3 separate regions of the Homo sapiens genome follow, and regions 2 and 3 are each linked to region 1. The links are contacts of gene promoters, found by promoter capture Hi-C in human tissues and cell types (Jung and others, 2019). All regions are on one chromosome and are shown on one strand. The core of a region is centred on a gene start or on the middle of the fragment in contact, and the rest is flanking DNA. Distances in the headings are between cores, read along the strand shown. Region 1 holds the start of DOCK5 (dedicator of cytokinesis 5). Region 2 overlaps BNIP3L (BCL2 interacting protein 3 like). Region 3 overlaps DPYSL2 (dihydropyrimidinase like 2).

The links. Contacts are between HindIII fragments. The study calls those that stand out against the background at their distance.
Region 2: a fragment that was not itself captured here is called in contact with the fragment with the promoter of DOCK5 in region 1 in 1 of the 25 tissues and cell types used here (hippocampus).
Region 3: a fragment that was not itself captured here is called in contact with the fragment with the promoter of DOCK5 in region 1 in 1 of the 25 tissues and cell types used here (hippocampus).

The regions. Positions count from the first base shown.
Region 1 is chr8:25,183,368-25,187,181 of GRCh38, forward strand. DOCK5 (dedicator of cytokinesis 5) reads left to right here and starts at 1,322. Exons shown (of 52, transcript NM_024940.8): 1 at 1,322-1,584. The coding sequence starts at 1,542. It overlaps LOC124901912 (a long non-coding RNA gene), which reads right to left and starts at 1,010. Exons shown (of 2, transcript XR_007060861.1): 1 at 1-1,010. RefSeq lists silencers at 1,140-1,219, 1,230-1,399, 1,570-1,619. The HindIII fragment of the contact is 16,568 bases long and covers 1-3,814 here.
Region 2 is chr8:26,403,501-26,407,326 of GRCh38, forward strand. All of the region lies in intron 3 of BNIP3L (BCL2 interacting protein 3 like), which reads left to right. Among named protein-coding and RNA genes, the nearest start is that of BNIP3L, 22 kb to the left of the region's middle. The HindIII fragment of the contact is 5,499 bases long and covers 1-3,826 here.
Region 3 is chr8:26,594,267-26,597,803 of GRCh38, forward strand. The region is part of intron 3 of DPYSL2 (dihydropyrimidinase like 2); the gene reads left to right. LOC124901916 (a long non-coding RNA gene) reads left to right here. Exons shown (of 2, transcript XR_007060865.1): 2 at 1-1,063. Among named protein-coding and RNA genes, the nearest start is that of DPYSL2, 82 kb to the left of the region's middle. The HindIII fragment of the contact is 4,444 bases long and covers 1-3,537 here.

The DNA.
Region 1 (3,814 bases), core at 72-2,571:
ACGTCTGGCTAACTTTTGTATTTTAGTAGAGAAGGGGTTTCACCATGTTGGCCAGGCTGGTCTGGAACTCGTGACCTCAGGTGATCCACCCGCCTCGGCCTCCCAAAGTGCTGAGATTACAGGCATGAGCCACCACGCCTGGCCAACTACCTGTCTTTACTATCTTTACTACATGTTTGTCTTCCTTTCTTTTATATTCCTAAAACGCATGAAAACCTTCACAGGCTGCAAGGAGGATATAATTTCTCTCTAGAGGAATCTTCTTCGAAGGTGAACGTAATTAAGCTGGTCATTTACTCTACTTGCAATGTTACTTCTCGGTACAAGGTAGGGAGAAACCCCTGGATCTTCATTCTCCAAGTCTCTCCAGGAAGAAATGAATTCCAAGAGGGGAGCTCCAGAGAGGGCGCCACCTGGAGCCCAAGGCGGTTCAAATGCGCAGCCCCTTTGGGATCTTCGTCAAGAAAAGGCAGTCGTTGACGGAGAAAAGACGGGGATGCGCCTTGGCCCTTTCTCCACGGGAATGCTCTCTGGGCTGCTGGCTGGTTGGGAAAGGGAGGTCTGGGCATGAGGGTCTAAGTTTCTTCAGCTTAAGGTTGGGGGGTCCCCGGAGTTTGGGGATACAGGACTTCCAAATTAGGGCTTTCTAAACAATTTCCCTGCAGAGGATCCCCTAGCAAACGGTCTGATACTTCTGAGGAGCCCACCTCCCTTGCACCAGCTCTCCGGTGATAAAAGTTCTGCTTTCCAGGCTCTAAGCGGTGGCCCCGGGAGATTCAGTCTGCCCTGAGTCCGGCTTCTCCCGCTCGCGGCGCGGGTTCAAGCTCCAGGGGGTGAAGGCAGAAGTCAACTGCTCATTCATTCAACAAATATTTATTGCGCGCCCGCTTAGTGCCAGGCACCGGAGGTGCCCCGAGCAAGAAGCCGCTCTCGCTGATCCGTTTCCGCTCCCCAAGTGTCCGGCGCGCGCCGTGGGAGCGCAGCCCGCATCCCTCGCCCACCGGCCGCCCGGCCTGGGCGTGCCCGGCTCCTCCAGCGCAGCCCTCTGTCGGGAGCCGGACCCCCGGGACCCAGCCTCCGGGGTATCAGCCGGGTGGGGAGGGCGGGAGAAAGGCAAAGTGCCGCCAGCGTCAAAGTCCCGCCGGCCCAGGAAGCCGCTCCAGGGAAGCGCGCGAGGCGGAGCCGCAGTCGGCCCCCGCCCGGCAGAGCGCAGAGAGCGGCGCGGGCGGGAGAGGCCGGGCGCCCGCGGCTCGGAGGCGGCCCCGGCGGGCGGAGGGTGCGGCCGGCGGGAGGGACTGGGGCGGCGCCAGGAGGGGCGCGCACTGCTGCGCTGCAGCCCGGCCCAGCAGGTGACCGCGGGCGGCGCGGGCACGGGCACGGGCGCGGGCGGCGCGGCGAGGAGGCGGCCCGCGGAGTCCAGCGAAGTTTGGCGGAACATGGCGGAAGCGTCTGGGGCACGCAGGAGCGCGGGGCGGCGGCGGCCGGAGCCCGAGGAGCTGTAGCAGCCTTAGTCGCCGCCGCCGCGGGGCGAGGTCGCCGCCATGGCCCGCTGGATCCCGACCAAGAGGCAGAAGTACGGGGTTGGTGAGTGCGCGCCCCACCTTGTCCCGGCCCGACCCACGCGGCCAAGTTCGCGGACAGCGGCCCTGCCAGGTTTGCGCAGAGCCCGGCGGAGGACCCTGGCCGGGGGCTCGGCCCGGCTGCGCAGCTCTGGGAGCCGGGGACGGTAGGAGTCCTCTCCAGGGAGCGCCGATGGGGAAGTCGCCCAGGGTTTGGGGACTCCGAGTGCTTCCAAGTGCAGCTGAGCTTCGGGACCGTAATCCCGCTCTTGCATCCCAATCTCCGGCACTTCACACCAGGGAAATGTCAACGCGAGGGGGGCGCGCCTGCTGCTCTTTTGGGGCCGCAGCTCTGTGGCTCGCCCCGGTGCGCCCAGCGTGGGTTTCACCTGGGAGTAGGTGACCAGCCCGGGTCGGCACATGGACTGGTGCTCATTGTCCCAGTGCTTTCTGCCCCCCGCTTTCGTAGGTTCTTCTCAGACGCCCCTTAAGTGAGGAGTTGAGGGTGGAAAGCCGCCCTGCCCCCTTTCCTCCAGAGACTGGGATCTTGATGACAGTTGTGAGCTGGATGGAAACTAGAGTCGTGGCGTGGAAGTGATGGAAGGGACAGGAAGTTGTGGCACGGGAAGGGGGTGGCTGGCCCCTGGGGCTGTTTGTGCGCACTCATCCCCTAACGGAGCCTGTCTGGAGAGGGTGTAAGGCTGCCTTCCGGATCCTGAGTTTCATCCTGGAGACGAGAAGAGGACATTTTATTAAGGAAACTGTGCCAGACCCCGTGCTGGGCACTTGGCATTCAGAACAGCGGTGCTGGAGAGCCCCGGGTTGTGCGCAGGGGTTGCTGGTGGTGGTGCTTTGGCTCCGAAACAATAGATGTGCGGGGATTTTGACCCAGGTGGAAAGTCAGGCTCCTTTGGCTTTTTATCAAGGATTGAAGTTATTGAGGGCCTGTGGGAAGACTTCTGCCCTGAACGGGGTGATTACAATGGCAGTTAGACCTGGGGTGATTCCCTACAATAAACACGGCTGAGTGTGTTGCGAATTTTATCACTTCCTCTCAGATCCATTCATTTGGCCTGTTTGTAATTTAGTCTTTGACTTTACTCCCTTACTGAGGTCCTGTTTTTCCTCACCTCACTGGTTAATGAAGTGCAGTCTCAATTAAGAGCTACTCAACGTGTCTAGGGGCTTTTCAACTCTGTAGCCAGGAGTCAGGGTTTTTTGTTGTTGTTTGTTTTGTTTTTTAACAGTCTCATATTTACTATATTATTCTTAGGTTGTGATCCTTTATATATTTATTATTTTTTGTTTTCCCTCAATTCAAAAGACATTTTCTTTTTTGCTCTTAAGTTGCTTTTAGAATCTTAGTCTCTCCCTTAGCTGCATCTCAGAAATGGGTAGAGATGTTGCTTCTGCCTCAGGGCTCTTTTTTTTTTTTTTTTTGGTTTGTTTGTTTTTGAGACGGACTGACGAGGGAGTCTCACTCTGTCGCCCAGGCCGGAGTGCAGTGGCGCAATCTCGGCTCACTGCAAGCTCCACCTCTAGGTTCCAGCAATTCTCCTGTCTCAGCCCCCCTCCCCGAGTAGCTGGGATTACGGGCTTGCATCACTACACCTGACTAATTTTTGTATTTTTAGTAGAAACCAGGTTTCGCCATCTGGGCCAGGCTGGTCTCAAACTCCTGACCTCAGGTGATCCGCCTGCCTCGGCCTCCCAAAGTGTTGGGATTACAGTCATGAGCCACCTCACCTGGCCCCTAGATGAAAGCATATTTACAATGCCCAATCACTACAGAAATGTTATCAACTCTAATTTTATCAGGATTAAAAGCTCTTTTCAAAACTATTCAGTTGAGGGTAATTAATGCAAACATGTTTCAAAAATGTGGTTTTTATTGCCATAGTCCTAGGAGCAAGTATAATTGTTTTTAATATTTTGTTTTTATGTTCTGGAGTCAGTTTACTGTGTCACTTATCAGTCAAGAAAAATATTTGGGCCAGGTGCGATGGCTCACGTCTGTAATCCCAACAATTTGGGTGGCAGAGGCAGGAGGATTGCTTGAGCCCAGGAGTTCAAAACTAGCATAGCAACATGGCAAACGGGTCTTTACAATAAATACGAAAAAAATTTAGCCGGGCATGGTCGCCTGTGCCTGTGGTTCTAGCTACTGAGGAGGCTGAGGTGGGAGGATAGCTTGAGCCTGGGAGGTTGAGGGTGCACCGAGCCCCCATCACGACACTGCACTCCAGCCTGGGTGA
Region 2 (3,826 bases), core at 421-2,920, 1.2 Mb after region 1:
TTAACTAGATATGTTCTAGGTACTCAGTTTCTTTTTTTTTTTTTTTGGAGACAGCGTCTCAGGGTCTTGCTTTGTCACCCAGGCTGGAGTGTAGTGGTGCAGTTGTAGCTCACCACAGACTTCGATTCCCGGCTCAAGCAATCTTTCTGCCTCAGTCTCCCTAGTAGCTGGGACTACAGGCTCACACTGCCACGCCTGGCTACTTTTTTATTTTTTTTTTGTATAGACAGAGTCTCGCTATATTGCCCAGGCCGTTTTCAAACTCCTGGCCTCAAATGATCCTCCCATGTCGGCCTCCCAAAGTGCTGGAATTACAGACATGAGTTACTACTCCCACCTCTCTTTTAATGTTCTCAATCCAGTGAAAGCAATGATATTATCCCCATGGACCAGTGGAAAAAGTGAGGCTTTGTACTAATTACTTATCTAAGATCACAAAGCAAGTCACTGTTAGAGCCAGGATTCAAAGCAGGTCTGAGTCTGTGGCCCTTGTTCTTTCTACTGAACTAAGTAAATGAATTCGATTGATAACAGGAGAGCTCACAAAGCCATGAGAATGAACTGAAAAATGTCTGCTGAGTTATGGTATGGGGAATCTGCCTAAGGCAGTGTGCACTTAGGAAAAAGACCATGAAACTGCTTTTCGGATGATCATCCTCAAGAGTCTCAGTTTTGTATCAGAAAACAGACTGTAGATTGTTTCTTCACTTGATCTTAGCCAAAAGTCCGAGAAGCGATATAGATTATTTATTGAAGACATTTTTGCATTGTGTTTCTGGGACCAAAAATGCCAGCACAATGTTGAGTGTTACTGAAAAATGATCCAAACAGAAAATATCCTCCATTTCCTGTCTTGTAAAACTGTGATTTTTATCTGTACATGAATCATGGTATACAGCTTAATATCCATATTTAGAGGACAGAGTGACCTTGAGGTAAACCAGAGAAGGAAAACTTAAGTGATCAGAAAACAAAGAACTCCATGTGAGAGAACAGGCTAGAACGATCAGAATCTTCTTTGTTTTTGTTTTTTGTTTTTGAGATGGACCTCACTCTGTCACCAGGCTGGAGTGCAGTGGCATCGGCTCACTGCAACCTCTGTTTCCAGGTGGTTCTGCTGCCTCAGCTGCCCAAGAAGCTGGGATTACAGGTGTGCACCACAACGCCTGGCTAATTTTTGTATTTTTAGTAGAGACAGGGTTTCGCCGTGCTGGCCAGGCTGGTCTCAAACTCCTAACCTCAAGTGATCCGTCCACCTCGGCCTCCCTAAGTGCTGGGATTACAGGCATGAGCCATGGTGCCCAGCCAGAATCTTCTTTGAATAGATGTAGGTATAGAGAGAGGATTATTGATTTTAAAAGCACAAATCTTACGTAATTAGATTAAGTACATTTTTACCATATTCTGGAATTCTAAGAATTGGAAGGCAGTTTAAAACCTGAAAGTGGCAAATTTAAGATTAATAAAAGGAAGCACAGAGTGGTAGTGAATGAGGAAAGCTTACCACTCTTATTCTTAAAGTATTGTAAGTTGGGAAACTTATGGAGTTCTTTTTTGTTTTGTTTTCTTTTTAAAACACTTGTCCAGAGATAACTTTGCTTCATTCAACTGAGAAAATTCCATCCTCATGAAAAAAAAAATTAGAGCGTGAAATCTTACTGCGTTTCATTCTGTCAGAAATTATGAAATATTAACTTGTTAAATCTTTGAGCAGGTTTAAAGAAAGATCTGTGAGGCCAAAGCAGGAAACTAAACAGAAGCGACCTGCAGTGTGTTGAGTATAGTCAGATATTGTGTGTACAGGAACTGATGTGCAAGTAAATTGTAACAGTTTATTGTTTTTGATTTGGGATGATTTCAGTGTTACTCCAAAGAGCCAACTCATGATTCTGAGTAATCTCAATAGCCAATGGAAGGAGCTTAATCCTAAATGCTACATTGTGTCATTCAGTGGAATTTGCCAAGTTCAGCAGAACTAGATAAGATTGGTACTAACAAGAGCAGCAGAACGCACAGGGGTTTTACTTTGCCCTGTCTGAAGCTCCTTCCTGGGGTAGCTGTTTCACAGAGAACTAGACCTGTCAAGAGTCATGTGAATATGTCAGACTCTGCATTTCTTAGCTACCTACTGAAAAGAATGACAGCTTTGGTCATTCTTTTGAGTGAATCCTAGTCAAACAAAATAAAATGTCAAAATGCTTCTTAGTTTTGAGACCCCTGGGTTTGGGATCATAGCATGACATCCCTTAAAACTGACTATGACCAGGCACGGTGGCTCACGCCTGTAATCTCAACACTTTGGGAGGCTGAGGCGTGTAGATCACTTGAGGTCAGGAGTTCGAGACCAGCCTGGCCAACATGGTGAAACCCCGTCTCTACGAAAAATATAAAAATTTGCCAGGTGTAGTGCCAGGCGCCTGTAATCCCAGCTACTCTGGAAGCTGAGGCAGGAGAATTGCTAGAACCCAGGAGGCAGAGGTTGCAGTGAGCCAAGGTCGCGCCACTGCACTCCAGCCTGGGTGACAGAGCGAGACTCCGTCTCAAAAAGAAAACTGAATAAATAATACTGAATAAATAAATATCATTTTTAGGACTTTTTCATTCCTTTTGGTTCTATTAAAAGGGGAGCTATTGGAAATGTTAATTGTTCTTGGCCTGAAACTTTAGGTTATAATAAGCAATTTTTAAAAGTCACATTTTTTATTTTATTTGATATGACACATGTTAAATTCTGACTCAACTTATTATAGATTATTCCCAAAAACTTTTGGCTAACATAGTTTCGAAACCTTGGAAAATGTTTGTATAGCAATTTGTCCTAAAAATATAATCTCCTTCCAGAGAGTAAACCCTGGTGCTTAACAGTAGGGCCTCTCTATACAGTATTCCTGGGTTTGAATACTGGCCCTGCTATGTACTGGTTGTGGAACCTTAGGCAAGTTATTTAATCTATGTCTCAGTCTCCTCATCTGTAAAATGGGATTTTAATAATTATTTTTATAGGGTTATTTGTTGCAAGGTGAAAGTTAATGCATGTGGCTGGGTGCAGTGTCTCACACCTGTAATCCCAGCACTTTGGGAGGCTGAGGCAGGGAAGATCCCTTGAGCCCGGGAGTTCAAGACCAGGCTGGGCAACATAGTGAAACACTGTCTCTTTAAAGAAATACAAAAATTAGCTGGGCGTGGTGGCACACACCTGTAGTCCCAGCTACTTGGGAGGTTGAGGTGGGAGAATTAATTGAGCCCAGGAGTTCGAGGCTGCAGTAAGCTGTGATTGCACTCTGGCCTGGGTGACACAGGAGACCCTGTCTCCAGAAAAAAAAAAAAAATGCATGTAACATGCTTGGAATAATATTTGCCCCTTTAAGTGCTCAATAAATACTATTATTTATTTCCTCATCACATCTCTCACTTATTTTTGTTTTACTTCTCATCATTTTATTTTTAGCATATCCTTTTATTTCCTTTTATTTTTTTAATTATGAAATTTTTTTTTTTCTTTTTTTTGTTGAGATGGAATCTCACTCTATCACCCAGGCTGGAGTGTAGTGGCTGGATCTCGGCTCCACCTCCCAGGCTCAAGCAACCTCCACCTCCCAGGCTCAAGCGATTCTTCTGCCTCAGCCTCTCAAGTAGCTGGGATTACAGGTGCCCGCCACCATGCCCGGCTAATTTTTTTTTGTTTTGTTTTGTTTTGTTTTTTGAGGCGGAGTCTCGCTCTTTCCCCCAGGCAGGAGTGTAGTGGCGCGATCTCTGCTCACTGCAAGCTCCGCCTCCTGGGTTCACGCCATTCTCCTGCCTCAGCCTCCCGAGTAGCTGGGACTAC
Region 3 (3,537 bases), core at 702-3,201, 1.4 Mb after region 1:
GGAACAAGTGTGAAAAGATCTCCCTCTCTCTCTCTCTCACACCTGTCTGTATCCATCTTTATCTTTTTATCATCTATCTCTATCTATCTATTAATATATATTTATCTATCTAGCATGACCTGGGATAGGTGAATTCTATAGCCAGGTGGCCTCCAGAAGCTTACGAAATGATCGTCTACCAAATCTACCATCTATCTATTTCCCTACCTACCTATCATTTATCTAATCTATCTATATATTGATATATATCTATCTGGTCTATATCTATCTTGATATGACATCTGTCTGTACCTATGGTCTATCATCTCTATTTAATCCATCGTCTCTATATCTATTGATTATCACTTATCTGTTTTACTTATCCTAATCTATCATTAATCTATCATCTTTCTAATCTATCTGTATATATCTATTGTTTATCTAATCTATCAATTGACCATTCATCTGTTCATCTTTCATATACCAAAGATGCAGTTGCATGCCACCTGATTCCAGATGGGTTATCTCACTTCACTGTCACTTAGTGAGATCAGGAAGAAGTCTCAAGGATTGTTTCAACTTCAAGCCTATGTACATGAGTTTGCGTTTTGAACATAGCAGGAAAAACAACGATGTATAAGAAGCTTTCTTATTGGCTGGGCATGGTGACTTATGCCTGTAATCCCAGCACTTTGGGAGATTGAGGTGGGAGGATCACTTGAAGGCGCCAGGAGTTCAAGACCAGCCTGGGCAGCAAAGTGAAGCCTTGTCTCTACCAAAATCAATCAATCAATCAATCAATCAATAACTAAAAATAAAAATAAAAAATTAGCTGGGCGTGGTGACACATACCTGTAGTCCTAGCTGCTTGGGAGGCTGAGGTAGGAGGATTGCTTGAGCCCCAGAGTTTGAGGGTGCAGTGAGCTATGATTGTGCCACTGCACTTCAGTCTGGGAGACAGTGAGACCCCATCTTAAAAAAAAAGGTATAATGTAGCTTATAGGGCTTATAATCCTGTAAGAAGACTTCTTATGCAAGAAAATAAAAATTTTACTTTTCGCTATTTTTTTTTTCCTCCTCCAAATAATCTCTGGAGAATTTGGAGCCTGATTTTCTTGACAACACATCTGGCCCTGCAGATGTAAAGCAGTGTTCCCAGAAAACAGCCCGTCAAATCAATAACTCTTGCTATCTTTGAATTTTCAGCCTTTTTTGGCATTCAAATGAGGCCAACTTTATAAGTGGCCATTGCTGTGCTGTTGAATTCAAGCCCCTCCGTTTTTCATGGTGGATTCCTTGCATTGTCTGCTAGGGGGGTTGCATTCCTCGCTGAACCAGACCTCTGCCCTCTTCCCCGCTGCCTTGCAGTTTGCTGAGCTTCCAGGCAGGGCTGCAGGGTCGTGCTGCTGGAAGTATTGGTGACAAATTCTTCCCCAGTGGGTGTTTCGGCTAAGGAAGCATTTAGTCATGTAGGGCCTACCATGCCCAGCAGTGCAGCGTGGGAGAGGCCTGGCAGAGGGCAGAGCTCTCTTCTCTCCAGCCGGGTGTGGCTGGTGGCTCCTTCCTCTTTTGTAGTGTCAAACCAAGGGATAGTATGGACCCAGCAGAACTGAAAGCAAAGGGAGGACCCATTATTAGCCAGTTCTGGCAGAGGCGAGCAGCTTCTTTGTGTGGACAGGCATATCTCATGCCTTTTTGCTTCAGCTGGGAGTTTGTTTTTTTTTTAATTACTGTTATTTATTTATTTAGTACCTTAGCTCATTAGCTGCAGAAATCACAGGGGATGAAAAAGCAGGTAGGATGGGTCCATCCTTAAAGCAAGGAGAGAGTTGAATGAGGAAACTGTCCCTGAGGCCTTGACAGATATTTTGGAGCTAACTCTGAGCCCAGTGAGGGAGGACCTAATCTTTTGGAGGAAGTGCAACTTTAGCTTCAGAGTTTTAAATGGAAACTGGGCAGAAAGCCACAGCTTGGGCACAGCATTGGTGGCGTGTTGTTGTGTCACTTTGCACAGTTAGATGGGGCTTCAGCCCTCTTTGTAGGATGAACGTTTAGGTTCTTGTCCAAACGAATACACTTCTATATCCTACTAAAAATGATTGCAGGACAGCAGTGCAAACCAGGGCTGTCCTAGGCAAACCCAGGCATCTGTCACTCTAAAGGACACAAGGACACGTGTTGAGTCCTCTTGTCCTCCAGTGAGCTCGGGAAGGGGATGACCCTAGCAGTTGCTCTCTGGACCTCTCCACAGACCTGCCGGGAGTCATGGGTAGGAGTTGTGTGATTCTGTCCTTTTCACAAGAGATGGTTAGAAGAAAGTGAGGAGTTTGGAGGGAGCAGATAATTGATATCATTTATCGGGAATCTGTGGGACGCAAGCCCTGCATACACCATTTCTAATCCTTCCATCAACCCCGAAGATAGATAGGCTTATCCTCCTGTTATAAATGAAGTAATGAGCAGTCCAGAGAAGTGAAATGACTTGCCTGAAGCCACAGAGCCTGCAAGTGCGAGGGCTGGGATTCCAATCCAAGCTCTGGGCCAATGGCCCTTGCATATCCTAGAATGCGAGAGGAACGTTTGTTTTGTAGCAGTTAGACAGCCTGCTCATGAAAGCTGCTTTGTGCCCAGCCTTGTGACAGGTGCTTTACAACAATCCCAGACACAGCACCCACCTTGAGTTTGCCCTCAGGTACAGGGCTCCTATCCATCCTGGAAGAACAGAAAGATTTTGGTGTTCAAGTTTTATCCTGCCCTTCCATCCACCTGTTATTTAAAAGTACTTTTTCTGTAATATATAGGCAGAAAATGATCAGATATCATACGTCTCCTACTAAGTGGGAGGCTGCACCCAGCATGGAAGATGCTCACCAAGACGGTGGTATATTGGGTGTCTCTTCTCTCCTACAGAAGCCCTGGGTTGATGCCCTAGATCTCCCCTTGCATCCCAGAGGGGGATTTGGAGAGCAATCAAGAGGAGTAACTGATGCCATGCATTCATCAACTGAACTTAATCCTTCTTCTGGGAGGCCCGGGAGCCTTCTTCCATGCGGGGCCAGATTGAGCTGATTTCTGTCACGTAGGCTGCTCCGAGGTTGCCTTGCCCTTGCCTGGCACTCATCTTTTGCATTTCTCTGAATCGCTTTGGCGTGGGCTTTTATGAGGTTCATTAGGCTCAGCACCTCCCATGTCTGCTTGGGAAACACCACGGGCAGATGGCATTTTTCTTTTCTTTTCTTTTTTTTTGGATACAGAGTCTCCCTCCGTTGCCTAGGCTGGAATGCAGTGGCTTGATCTCAGCTCACTGCAAGCTCCGCCTCCCAGGTTCACGCCATTCTCCTGCCTCAGCCTCCCAAGTAGCTGGGACTACAGGCGCCCGCCACCACGCCCAACTAATATTTTGTATTTTTAGTAGAGATGGGGTTTCACTGTTTTAGCCAGGATGGTCTCGATCTCCTGACCTTGTGATCCACCCGCCTCGGCCTCCCAAAGTGCTGGGATTACAGGCAAGAGCCACCGCACCTGGCCTCTTTTTTTTTTTTTTTTTTTTGAGGGGCA